Linked DNA regions of Homo sapiens: all the other regions are linked to region 1. The links are contacts of gene promoters, found by promoter capture Hi-C in blood cells and fetal thymus (Javierre and others, 2016). All regions are on one chromosome and are shown on one strand. The core of a region is centred on a gene start or on the middle of the fragment in contact, and the rest is flanking DNA. Distances in the headings are between cores, read along the strand shown. Region 1 holds the start of ILKAP (ILK associated serine/threonine phosphatase). Region 2 has its middle 28 kb from the start of UBE2F-SCLY. Region 3 overlaps RAMP1 (receptor activity modifying protein 1). Region 4 has its middle 46 kb from the start of UBE2F-SCLY.

Evidence for each region. The method cuts DNA at HindIII sites, captures the fragments that hold promoters and counts their contacts. A CHiCAGO score of 5 or more calls a contact.
Region 2: a fragment that was not itself captured here is called in contact with the fragment with the promoter of ILKAP in region 1 in 1 of 17 cell types (activated CD4 T cells); the score reaches 5.5 in activated CD4 T cells.
Region 3: a contact is called between a fragment that was not itself captured here and the fragment with the promoter of ILKAP in region 1, in 1 of 17 cell types (erythroblasts). The highest score is 5.0, in erythroblasts.
Region 4: a fragment that was not itself captured here is called in contact with the fragment with the promoter of ILKAP in region 1 in 1 of 17 cell types (erythroblasts); the score reaches 5.2 in erythroblasts.

Annotation. Positions count from the first base shown.
Region 1 is chr2:238,202,344-238,205,043 of GRCh38, reverse strand. ILKAP (ILK associated serine/threonine phosphatase) reads left to right here and starts at 1,349. Exons shown (of 12, transcript NM_030768.3): 1 at 1,349-1,545. The coding sequence starts at 1,491. RefSeq lists enhancers at 468-1,340, 2,303-2,362 and silencers at 1,153-1,722, 1,843-1,932. The HindIII fragment of the contact is 5,343 bases long and covers 481-2,700 here.
Region 2 is chr2:237,937,208-237,939,907 of GRCh38, reverse strand. No RefSeq gene overlaps it. Among named protein-coding and RNA genes, the nearest start is that of UBE2F-SCLY, 28 kb to the left of the region's middle. The HindIII fragment of the contact is 6,534 bases long and covers 1-2,700 here.
Region 3 is chr2:237,886,352-237,889,051 of GRCh38, reverse strand. The region is part of intron 2 of RAMP1 (receptor activity modifying protein 1); the gene reads right to left. Among named protein-coding and RNA genes, the nearest start is that of RAMP1, 28 kb to the right of the region's middle. The HindIII fragment of the contact is 6,008 bases long and covers 1-2,700 here.
Region 4 is chr2:237,919,408-237,922,107 of GRCh38, reverse strand. No RefSeq gene overlaps it. Among named protein-coding and RNA genes, the nearest start is that of UBE2F-SCLY, 46 kb to the left of the region's middle. The HindIII fragment of the contact is 7,029 bases long and covers 1-2,700 here.

The DNA.
Region 1 (2,700 bases), core at 100-2,599:
AGTCTGTAAGAGAGAGCGCTCCTGATCGAAATTGGCCAGAATCCCCTCTCAGGTTTATTCTCTGAAATAAACCTTTTAATGTTGAGCCGCTTTTTGTATTTATTTCCTCTTTCTTTAACGGTTACAAGCATTGTTACTTGAGTGTTTCTGCTGTAATGGAGGAGGCAGCATGAATATCTCAAACGGTTGCTAGTGAGAAGCCACGCAGATGAGAGGCATGAAGCCTTGTTGGGCTCCCTCCATGTCCTACAGCCAGAGAGCGTCAGAAATACATCTGCCCCAGAATGAACTGGGCTGAAAACTCTTTGCATGGAGGGAGACCACATAACCTGGGGAACTTGGGTAAACGATGTTGGAACGGAGGTGTAAGATTTGGGTTTGTGTTAGTTGATTTGGGGAAACATTTATGGAAACGGGCCTTTGCTCCGGATTGGATGTCAGGAAGAGGAGGATTCCATGATTGGATATCTTGATGAAGCTTATCTAGACGGCAGGAGGACGAGACAAAGGCTAAACATGTAATGGTAAAGAAGCAGCAATCACTCTTATTGGCCAAGACGAGGGGAATGTGGTCACTTTTGTGGCTTGGACAGTGTTCCTGTTTTGTCTGTGTTCACACTTGATTACACAGTGGTCTGTTTTTTTCTCTTGATCTGTATCACGGCCTGATGTTGGTGTTTTATGAAATTGTTCACATTCAAAGAGAACACCCAGGCCTAGCTGTTTGTGCCAGACCAACCCCAAGTCCTGGCTGCAGAACCAGGCCAGCTCCCCGATGTCAGTGGCCGCCTTTCTCTTTACAGGCATGGAGGGGGACACCATTAAGGAGGAGCCCCTCTTCTCCGCTCCCCACAGACACCAGTGGGTGCAGACAAGTCAGGGAATGCCTCCTTTCCCTCCGGCATCTTTTGAGGTTTCCGTCCTGACGCCCAGGGCCGCTCCATCCAAGCCTCGGTTTCTCAGTCTCTAAAACAGGCCAGAAACCAGGCACGCCGTGGTGAAAGGACGAGCCGAAGAGATGGCAAGAGCTCCAGAAAGCCTTCCCAGGCATCAGGGGCTGCCCTTGAGCTCAGACGTTTCTCTCTGGACAGGGCTTCTTGGACAGGAACTCAACGAAACTTGACAGAAATCGGACACCCCCAGCCAAGGAAAAGCAGGAGGGGCCCGGGGTTCGCCAAGGCGGGAAACACCGCGGGGCCCAGACGGCGCCGTCCGCCCGGCTCGCAGTCGGGGCGCGGGAGGGGCCCACGCGCATGCGCACCGCCCCGCCCCCAGCCGCCCCGCCCAGCCCGCGCGCAGCCCTCTGGGGCGGCCGGGCCACGCCGCGCGCCGATTGGTGGCGTCCGGGACTCTCCCTGCAGGTGACTGACGGCGCCGGCCGCCCCTGCCCGTCGCCCGCCCGCTGCTGCCGCCCGCCCGGGGTGTGGAGCCCGGCCGCTGCTCGCGGGCTGAGTGTCTGTCGCTGCTGCCGCCTCCACCCAGCCTCCGCCATGGACCTCTTCGGGGACCTGCCGGAGCCCGAGCGCTCGCCGCGCCCGGCTGCCGGTAAGCGGCGTTGCCGCCGGGCCGGCCAGGGAAGGGAGAGCAGGCGGGATGGGGGCGGCCTGAGGCCCGGGGCGGCTGAGGCGGCGCCCGCGCTGGGAGGCGGCGGGCGGCGCGGGCTGCACGGGGCCTGCTCCTGCCTGGCCAGGCCCCGTCCGGCCCACTGGCGGCCCTGTCGGAGGCCCGGTCGCTCGCGGAGCTCGGAGAGGCCGCTCCGCCATTTTCGCTACGCAGGAAGGAAAGGGCCGAGCCGTCGTGGCCACGGCCCCTCTGCGTGGCGGTGAAAGGCGCCGGCGCGACCGCGTGGGCCGACCCGAGGGACCGGCTCTGAACGCCCGGCGGCACCGCGGGCCCCCGCGCCCCGATTCCACCCGCGGCCTGGGCTGCCTTGCGCGTCGCCCGCCCGCGGCTTCCGGGCCGCACTTCACCCGCGGGCTGTGGAACGGCCGCGTTCCGGGCCGGTGCAAGTTCAGGGGCTTGGCGTTTTTATTTGCACTGGAGATTGAATTAATCACCATCTTAATCCTTCGTGTTTTTGAAGCCTGGAAGACAGGATGCCTCCTCTGTCATCCTGTGATTTTGTGATAATTAACAGTAGTTTTTTTTTTTTTTTTCTGGTCCACGGGAAGTTCCCCCTCTCCTTGAAGTTAAGGGGTCCGCTCATCTCCTAAGCGCTGGCCCCTGCCAGTGGGAGTCCCTGTGGGCTGTGGTTTGAGCTCAGCATCCTAGCAGCTTGAAACAGGGCCTGTGTTAATCCCTGCGTCCTGTGGGTTACAGTCTCCGGGTTTCATCTGTCAAAACGCGTGAATATTTCATATGCAAGACTTCCAGCTTGATGTTGTAGTTTAGGGCCTTATTACAAAATTTAACTTGGGGGCAGAAAACCTGGAAAACTTAAGACGTTCAGATTTCCAGGCCCACCTCAGCCCCAGTAAATCCGAATCCCTGAGAGTGGGGTTTCCGAATCTGTTACTAAATCCCCAGGCCAACCCAGCGGGGGCTGGAGACCAGTGGTTTGGGAGCTGCTGTTGTAGGGTAGACGGAGGTGAGTAAGGCCCAGCCTTCGCTTTCTAAGAGCTGCTTTCTGAAGGGTACTAATTACGGTAATTAAAACTGGCAAAAGTTAATGACTGTGGGAAATGCTGAGGACTCTTGAGG
Region 2 (2,700 bases), core at 11-2,510, 270 kb after region 1:
CACTCGGCCCTCTTCAGTTTCCTATAAAAGCCTTGGCATTCAGTTGTAAAAATGGCAACCCTCTTCAAGTCCCCTCTCTGCAGCAGAGAGCTTTCTTCTTTCACTTATTAAACTTTTGCTTCAAACTCATCCTTTGTGTCCATACTCCTCAACTCTCTTGGTTGTAAGACAAAGAACTCTGGGTGATACCTCACAATGAGAGACTGCTCCATTGTGGTGCATTGATGAGACTCTAACACCATTAAGTGACACATACCTGTATATGTGTTCATACTAACTCATGTCACATATGTAACCAGCAGCATGTATCTACAACTATTTCTATATGTAGCTATCTGCATCTATAGTAAGCTAAGAATGAATTCATACTGATGTATAATCCATCACCACATGGATCATTCTAGCTTCCTCCCCTTGCTTTTGTGTAAACACACTGAGAAATGTAGCTTCTACCATCTGCCACTGTTTACATAATTGCTCTATTCCAGTATATTTGTAGAGCAGTATCTGAATTATTAGCTCATGCCTCCATAGCAAACAACTTTATTAACTAGACTACAGTGCTTTTGTGCAATTCCTTCTGTCTTTAGTCTTAGAGGTGCAACTCATTTCCAAGTTACTTAGGTCAGCACCTTCCCATCCCCTCCACCCCCACCCCTCCATCCCCTCCAGCAAAGTTGTTGCATGCATTTGTAATACAGTTTGTTGCGTAAACCAAAAATACAATTCTAAGCCTCCCAACTGACTGAAGAGACCCCTCCTTTCTACCAAGGGGGTCCAAAGAAACCTGAAAAACTACTTCATGTGATGACAGGAAAGAGGGGTCAGACATGCCTCATTATATTCTCCTCCCTTTGGAGTTCAGGCACAACTGACCAACACTAACATTAAAACAGAGGTCTTAAGAGTGACAAAACAGACTCTTTATAGTAATAAGATACCAAATTCCAACCTGATTCTAGTATAACATCACTTGACAGATAGTGTGTTCCTGAAAGAAATCAAAATATTTATCCATATATATATATATATATATATATATTTTAGACAGAGTTTCACTCTGCCATCCAGGCTAGAGTGCAGTGGTGCAATCTCAGCTCACTGCAGCCTCCACCTCCTGGGTTCAAGTGATTCTCCTGCCTCAGCCTCCCGAGTAGCTGGGATTACAGGTATCCACCACCACACCTGGCTAATTTTTGTATTTTTAGTAGAGATGGGGTCTCACTATGTTGCCCTGGCTGGGCTCGAACTCCTGACCTCAGCTGATCCACCTGCCTCAGCCTCCCAAAGTGCTGGGATTACAGGCATAAGCCACTGGGCCCGGCCCCCAAATATATTTCTTTTCTTTTTTTTTTCTTCTCGAGATGGAGCCTTCCTCTGTCGCCCAGTCTGGAGTGCAATGGCACAATCTTGGCTCACTGCAACTGCTGCCTCCCAGGTTCAAGCAATTATCCTGCCTCAGCATCCTGAGTAGCTGGGATTACAGGTGTGCACCACCATGCCCAGCTAATCTTTGTATTTTTTTTTTTTTTTTTGAGATGGAGTCTCGCTCTGTCACCCAGGCTGGAGTGCAGTGGCGCGATCTCACTGCAAGCTCTGCCTCATGGGTTCATGCCATTGTCCTGCCTTAGCCTCCCGACCGAGTAGCTAGGACTATAGGCGCCTGCCACCATGCCCGGCTAATTTTTTGTATTTTTAGTAGAGACAGGGTTTCACTGTGTTAGCCAGGATGGTCTTGATTTCCTGACCTCGTGATCGGCCTGCTTCGGCCTCCCAAAGTGCTGGGATTACAGGTGTGAGCCACTGTGCCCATCTGGAGTTTGACTTTTTAAAATCAACAACAGTTAGATTCTCTTGTCACGGTCGGCATTCCTTCCTGAGAGCCCCCTCCCCAACCTCCTAAATTATAATATCCGTAGGAAAGTAATAGACTTTCAACTATTAACAGATATCCTGCAATATTGCTGTAAACACTGATTCATTCTAGGAGTCTTTATTCTTTGGGATTTTCTACACAGACAATCATCTCATCTGTGAACAAAGACAATTTTGCCTCTTACTTTCCAATATGTATACATTTTATTTCCTTTTCTTGTTTTATTGCACTTCCTAGGACTTTGGTATGATATTGAATCATAGTGGTAAAAGGGGATATCTTTGCCTTTTTCCTGTTCTCAGGGGAAAAGCATTCAACTTTTCTTCATTAGGTATAATATTAGTTGTAGGGTTTTTGGGTAGATTAAAAAAAAACAAACTGACAAAGTTCCCTCCTCTTTCTGGTTTTATTTACTGAATTTTTTTTATCATGGATGGGTGTTGGTTTTGTCAAATGCTTTTTCAGCATCAATGAATATGATCATATGATTTCTTTTCTTTAGACTTTTGATGTCATGGATTGCATTAATTTATTTTTGAATGCTGAATCAGTCTTGTATACCTGGAATAAATATCATTTGATTTATGTTTAATTCTTTTCATGTGTTGTTGGATTCAATTTACTAATATTTTGAGAATTTTTTTTTCTTTTTTTGAGATAGAGTCTTGCCATGTCACCCAGGCTGGAGTGCAGTGGTGCAATCTCGGCTCACTGCAAGTTCTGCCTCCCAGGTTCACGCCGTTCTCCTGCCTCAGCCTCCTGAGTAGCTGGACTACAGGTGCCTGCCATCACGCCCAGCTAATTTTTTTGGTATTTTTAGTAGA
Region 3 (2,700 bases), core at 47-2,546, 320 kb after region 1:
GGCTCATGCCTGTAATCTTGGGAGGCCGAGGCGGATGGATCACTTGAGGTCAGGAGTTCGAGACCAGCCTGGCCAACATGGTGAAACCCCGTCTCTATTAAAAATACAAAAAATTAGCTGGGCGTGGTGGCGGGTGCCTGTAGTTCCAGCTACTCAGGAGGCTGAGGTAGGAGAATCACTTGAACCCGGGAGGCAGGGGTTGCAGTGAGCCAAGATTGTGCCGCTGCACTCCAGCCTGGGCAAGAGAGGGAGACTCCGTCTCAAAACAAACAAACAAAAAAAAGAATTTGTAAAAGAAGATTAAAAATACCTCCAATGGGCATATGGGAAATCTCTGTACCTTCCTCTCAATTTTGCTGTGAACCTAAAACTGCTCTAAAAAATAAAGTCTTAAAAAAAGGAAAAAAGGGCAATGACTCACAGGACAAATAGGAAAGGTCATGGTGACGTAACTTGCACTTGAGAAAAAACAAATTCCAAATAACTGTCAGAGACCAGTTCAACTTTCCTAATTGCCAAAGACATGCAAACTAAAACTACAGAGGAAATCTCCTTTGACCTGCAAAAATAAAATCCCTACAAACTCAATACTCACGAGCCTATGAGGAACTAGGCATTTTCATATGTTGCTGATAGAATTATAAATTAGTAAAATTCTTTAGAGGAACAACTGGCAAAAATCTATCAAGAACCACAGAATGGGCCGGGCGTGGTGGCTCACGCCTGTAATTCCAGCACTTTGAGAGGCGGAGGTGGATCACCTGAGATCAGGAGTTTGAGACCAGCCTGGCCAACATAGTGAAACCCTGTCTCTACTAAAAATACAAAAAATTAGCTAGGCATGGTGGCAGGCACCTGTAATCCCAGCTACTCGGGAGGCTGAGGCAGGAGAATCGCTTGAACCCAGAAGCCAGAAGTTGCAGTGAGCCGAGATTGTGCCACTGCACTCCAGCCTGGGCGACACAGCAGGATTCTGTCTCAAAAAAAAACCCCCCAGAACCACAGAATGTTCATGGTACATGCTACAGTAAGCCTACTTGCATGAATTATTTCTCCCAGGAATGTCTAACAACAAAATCTTTTTTAAAAAAACAAAGGATATATGTACACAAGTTCTTATAGTGTTGTCATTTATTTCAGACAAGGTCTCACTTTGTCACCTGGGCTGGAATGGAGTGGCACAACCTCAACCTCCTGGGCCGAGGCGATCCTCCCACTTCAGCCTCCCTAGGACTACAGGTGCGCCCATTACACTCAGCTAATGTTTACATTTTTTGTAGATACCTGGTTTCGCCATGTTGCCCAGGCTGGTCTCGAACTCCTGGGCTCAAGTGATCCACATGCCTTGGTCTCCCAAAGTGCTGGGATTGCAGGTGTGAGCCACTGTGCCCAGCTCCATCATTTATAATAGCAAAAACCAGGAAATGGCTTTAACTCGAGCAGGAGTAGGGAACCACAGCGTGCCAGTGTGGCCTGCCCTAGAGTGAGGCGGCCTCCACTGCCTGGGCAGTGAGGGTAAACTCAGTCTCTTTTTCAGAAAGTGCATTCTCCATTTTTTGATTGAGACAAGAAGCTGAAACAAGAGTGGACTCAGACCCAAGGCCTGTCCCAAGACGCATCCCAAAGGGCACCCTGTGCTTAGGTCCCGCAAGATACTCGGTGTCCTCGAACTATGCACAGGGAAGGCTGTGAGGTGCCACTGCTCCCTGGAGGCCCTCCCACAGGGGACTGAGAATGCTGCTGGCCCTGCCTGTGCCTGGGAGATGTCTACCATCTGAGTGATGAATGGATAGATCCTGGGAGATGCCATGGCCCAGCCTGGGGGCTGGAGTGAAGGTCAGCATTAGGAGGGGACATCTGCTCTGTCCTCTACCCACTGCCCTCCCCACACAGGACCCACAGCCAGAGGTGTCACACACAAGGGCACATCTTCATCCTCTCTCCCCCACCCCACCCCCACCCCTTCCCCATGGGCAGCCCAGGAGGCCGCCTTCGGGGCTCAGTGAAGCCCTGTGTGCACAAACTGGCCTGTGTCCCAGGACAGCCAAGTCCCGTCTGCACAGCCTGGATGGTTCTAGGGCTTTCTGGGGGTGTGGCTGCTGTAGTCGAGTGTCCACAGGGGAGGCGGGGGTGGATGCTGAGCTACGACGAGCCCCCGCCACCAGACGTGTTCCACCTGCCCACCCTTTCACTCACTGCCGGGATCTGGTTAGCGTCACCGCATGTCTGACCTTTCGCGTTGACGCACAGGCCTGATTTCATCCCCATACTCAGGAGGATGTGAAACCAGGCAGTTAATCACCTGATGGGAAAGACGCCATGGTGGGCTCAGTGCCACGCTCCGCGCTAAGTCACCACAGGGTCTGGGGAAGGTCTCTCCATCTGTGCCTTCCCCCAGGGCCAGAAGACTTCCGAAAAAGATGTGCTGAGGATGACAAGGTGGTCCCTGGGTGTGGAGGGGTGAGGCCAGCAGTCGCCCGCTCCAGCCCCAGCCTCCAAGCTCCCCCAACACGAGGGCTCCTCTCTGTGGGTCCTCACAGATGCATTTCTCCTGGAGCTTTCTGAGAAGGGAAATGGGGCTCCTCCTCCCCATTCCAGAGCCCCCCAGCCCAGCAGGCAGGTGTCATCAGATCCTCTGGGGATCCTCATCAGAACCCACCATGGCGCGCACGTTAAGTGAGGCAACCCCTGACCTGAACA
Region 4 (2,700 bases), core at 147-2,646, 280 kb after region 1:
GTGGAGAGTTGCCCATTTTTCAGAAGCGGGATGACAAGCCCCTGCTGCCTTTCACCAATGCCCGTGAATGCACCTGCTTGGGAATCCTCTTTGGAATCTCCCTGAGGTCTTCTGCCCCTCCCCGTGTCTCCCTCATTAAACCACATTTTCCCACAATGAGAACGTGCCATGATGTGCGTTGATGCAAAGCAGGTCTTTATTCAATCTTGTGATGTTTCCGTAGCCAATGCCTTACTGCAGTGCCGTTTTCCATGACTTTTCACGTGAATTACAACACTTTAATTCCATTCCAGCTTAAATTGGCTGTGTTGGGTCAGGTAGAAAAGCCCACTGCCCTGGGTGACACTTTTATGGTTGGGGAAGTGGCTCTTGTCCTGGCTGAGTTGTGTCCTTGCCTCAGAATGTGACTTCACATCTTGAAGTCCTAACCAGCAGTACCTCAGAATGTGACTGGGTTTGGACCCAGGGTCTTTACAGAGGTGACTAAGGTTAAATGAGGTCACTGGGTGGGCCCTAACCCAATGTGACTGTGCCCTTATAAGAAGAGAAGATTAGGGCCAGGTGCAGTGGCTCATGCCTGTAATCCCAGCACTTTGGGAGGCCAATATGGGTGGATCACCTGAGGTCAAGGGTTCAAGACCAGCCTGGCCAACATGGTGAAACCCCATCTCTATTAAAAATACAAAAATTAGTCAAGCGTGGTGGCACACACCTGTAATCCCAGCTACTTGGGAGGCTGAGGTGGGAGAATTGCTTGAACCCGGGAGGTGGGGGCTGCAGCGAGCGGAGATTGCGCCACTGCACTCCAGCCTAGGTGACTGGGCGAGACCCTGTCTCAAAAGAAAAAAAAAAGATTAGGATGCAGGCACAGAAAGACGACCATATGAGGCAGGGAGGAAATGACAAGCCAAGAAGAGAGGCATCAGAAGGAACCAACCCTGCCGACCCCTTGATCTCAGGCTTCCAGCCTCCACAGCTGCGAGAAACGCACTTCTGTTGTTTAAGTCCCCAGCCTGTTATAGCAGCAGCTTGGGCAGACTCCGACTGCACTGCTTTATCCTCAGCCGAGCCCGAGGAGGAGGAGACAATCCCCAAACTCGATCGTTTCCTATCATTATGATCACCGATTATTCTCCTTTTGACTCACCCGACCTTCTGTGCAGAAGGGCTGGGAACACTGAGAGACGGGAGCATTTACCCACATGTGTTCACGTGCACGTGCAGCCACAGCTCCCAGCCCTGCTGTGAAAGTGAATCACTATGGCCCCGGTTAGCAGCGTTTGCCATGTGCCTGCCACATGGCCAAGGGCTGTCTTCACTGTGAGTCCCTGAAGTGTCCATGGCCAGCACTCTGCAGGCGATGACACTGAAGCCCAGAGGGTTGAGGAGCTTGCCTCGCCTTTCTTCCTTCCTTTCTTTTTTTTTTTTTTTGACATGGGGTCTTATTCTGTCACCCAGGCTGGAGTGCAGTGGTGTGATCATGGCTTACTGCCTCCCCAGCCCAAGCGATCCTCCCCCACAGCCTCCTGAGTAGCTGGGACTACAGGCACATGCCACCACACCCAGCTAATTTTTTAAATTTTTTTGTAGAGATGAGGTCTCACTATGTTGCCTAGGCTGGTCTCAAACTCCTGGGCTCAAGTGATCCTCCAGCCTCAGCCTCAGCCTCCCAAAGTGCTGGGATGACAGGCGTGAGCCACTGTGCCCAGCCTGCCTCACCATTTTTAATCGGCACAGCCAGGATTTGGTTTCAACTAAGGCAGCTTGGTGCCATCACTTCTATGCTACAACTTTTAAAAATATTGTTTTTTAAAACATTTTATTTACATTATATACTTTCACACCTATGACCATCTGAAACTTTTTTTTTGAGATGGGGTCTTGCTCCGTCACCCACACTGGAGTGCGGTGGCATGATTTTGGCTTGCTGCAGCCTCCCACCTCCAGGCTTAAGTGATCCTCCCACCTCAGCCTCCAGAGTAGCTGGGACCACAGGTGTGCGCCACCATACCTGGTTAAGTTTTTGTATTTTTGGTAGAGATGGGGTTTCGTCGTGTTGCCCAGCCTGGTCTCGAACTCCTGAGCTCAAGCAATCTGCTCTCCTCAGCCTCCCAAAGTACTGGGATTACAAGTGGGAGCCATTGCACCCGGCCTGACCATTTGAAACATTTTAAAGGTGGCACTGCTTCTTGTAAGAAGAGATCTTAGGTGGCAGGGGCAGGGCTGGGATGTAGGTGCTCTCATGGCAGGATGCACTGGGGATGGAAAGCAGCTGCCACCTGTCATGGACATGCACCTCCAGTCACCCCTGTCTGCCTCCCGCCCTGCCCCCAGAAAACAGGAAGCAAACTTCCCCGGCCTCCTGTCAGAGTGTCTGTGGGGAAGCGATTCACGTGGGGGCATGAGCACTGTCCCCAGGCCCAAGGATTGTGGCTGGGGTGGGGCAGAGAGGGATGCTTTGGAGGGCTGCTCTCTTCCCGCTGTTCCTCTGCACCCCCTTCACATTTTTGTAACCCAAATAAAGATGGGCACCCATGGTCCACCTCCGCACAGGCCCAGGAAGAAAAAAAACAAAGTCAGATCCAAGTTCACTTCCTAAAATAGCCTTGAAAAGCAATTTAGGTCCTTCTTAAATTTGTTCTAGGGGGAACCAAAGTGCAATTATGTTCACAATCTAGAGAAAAATGTCTTGAAACCTCT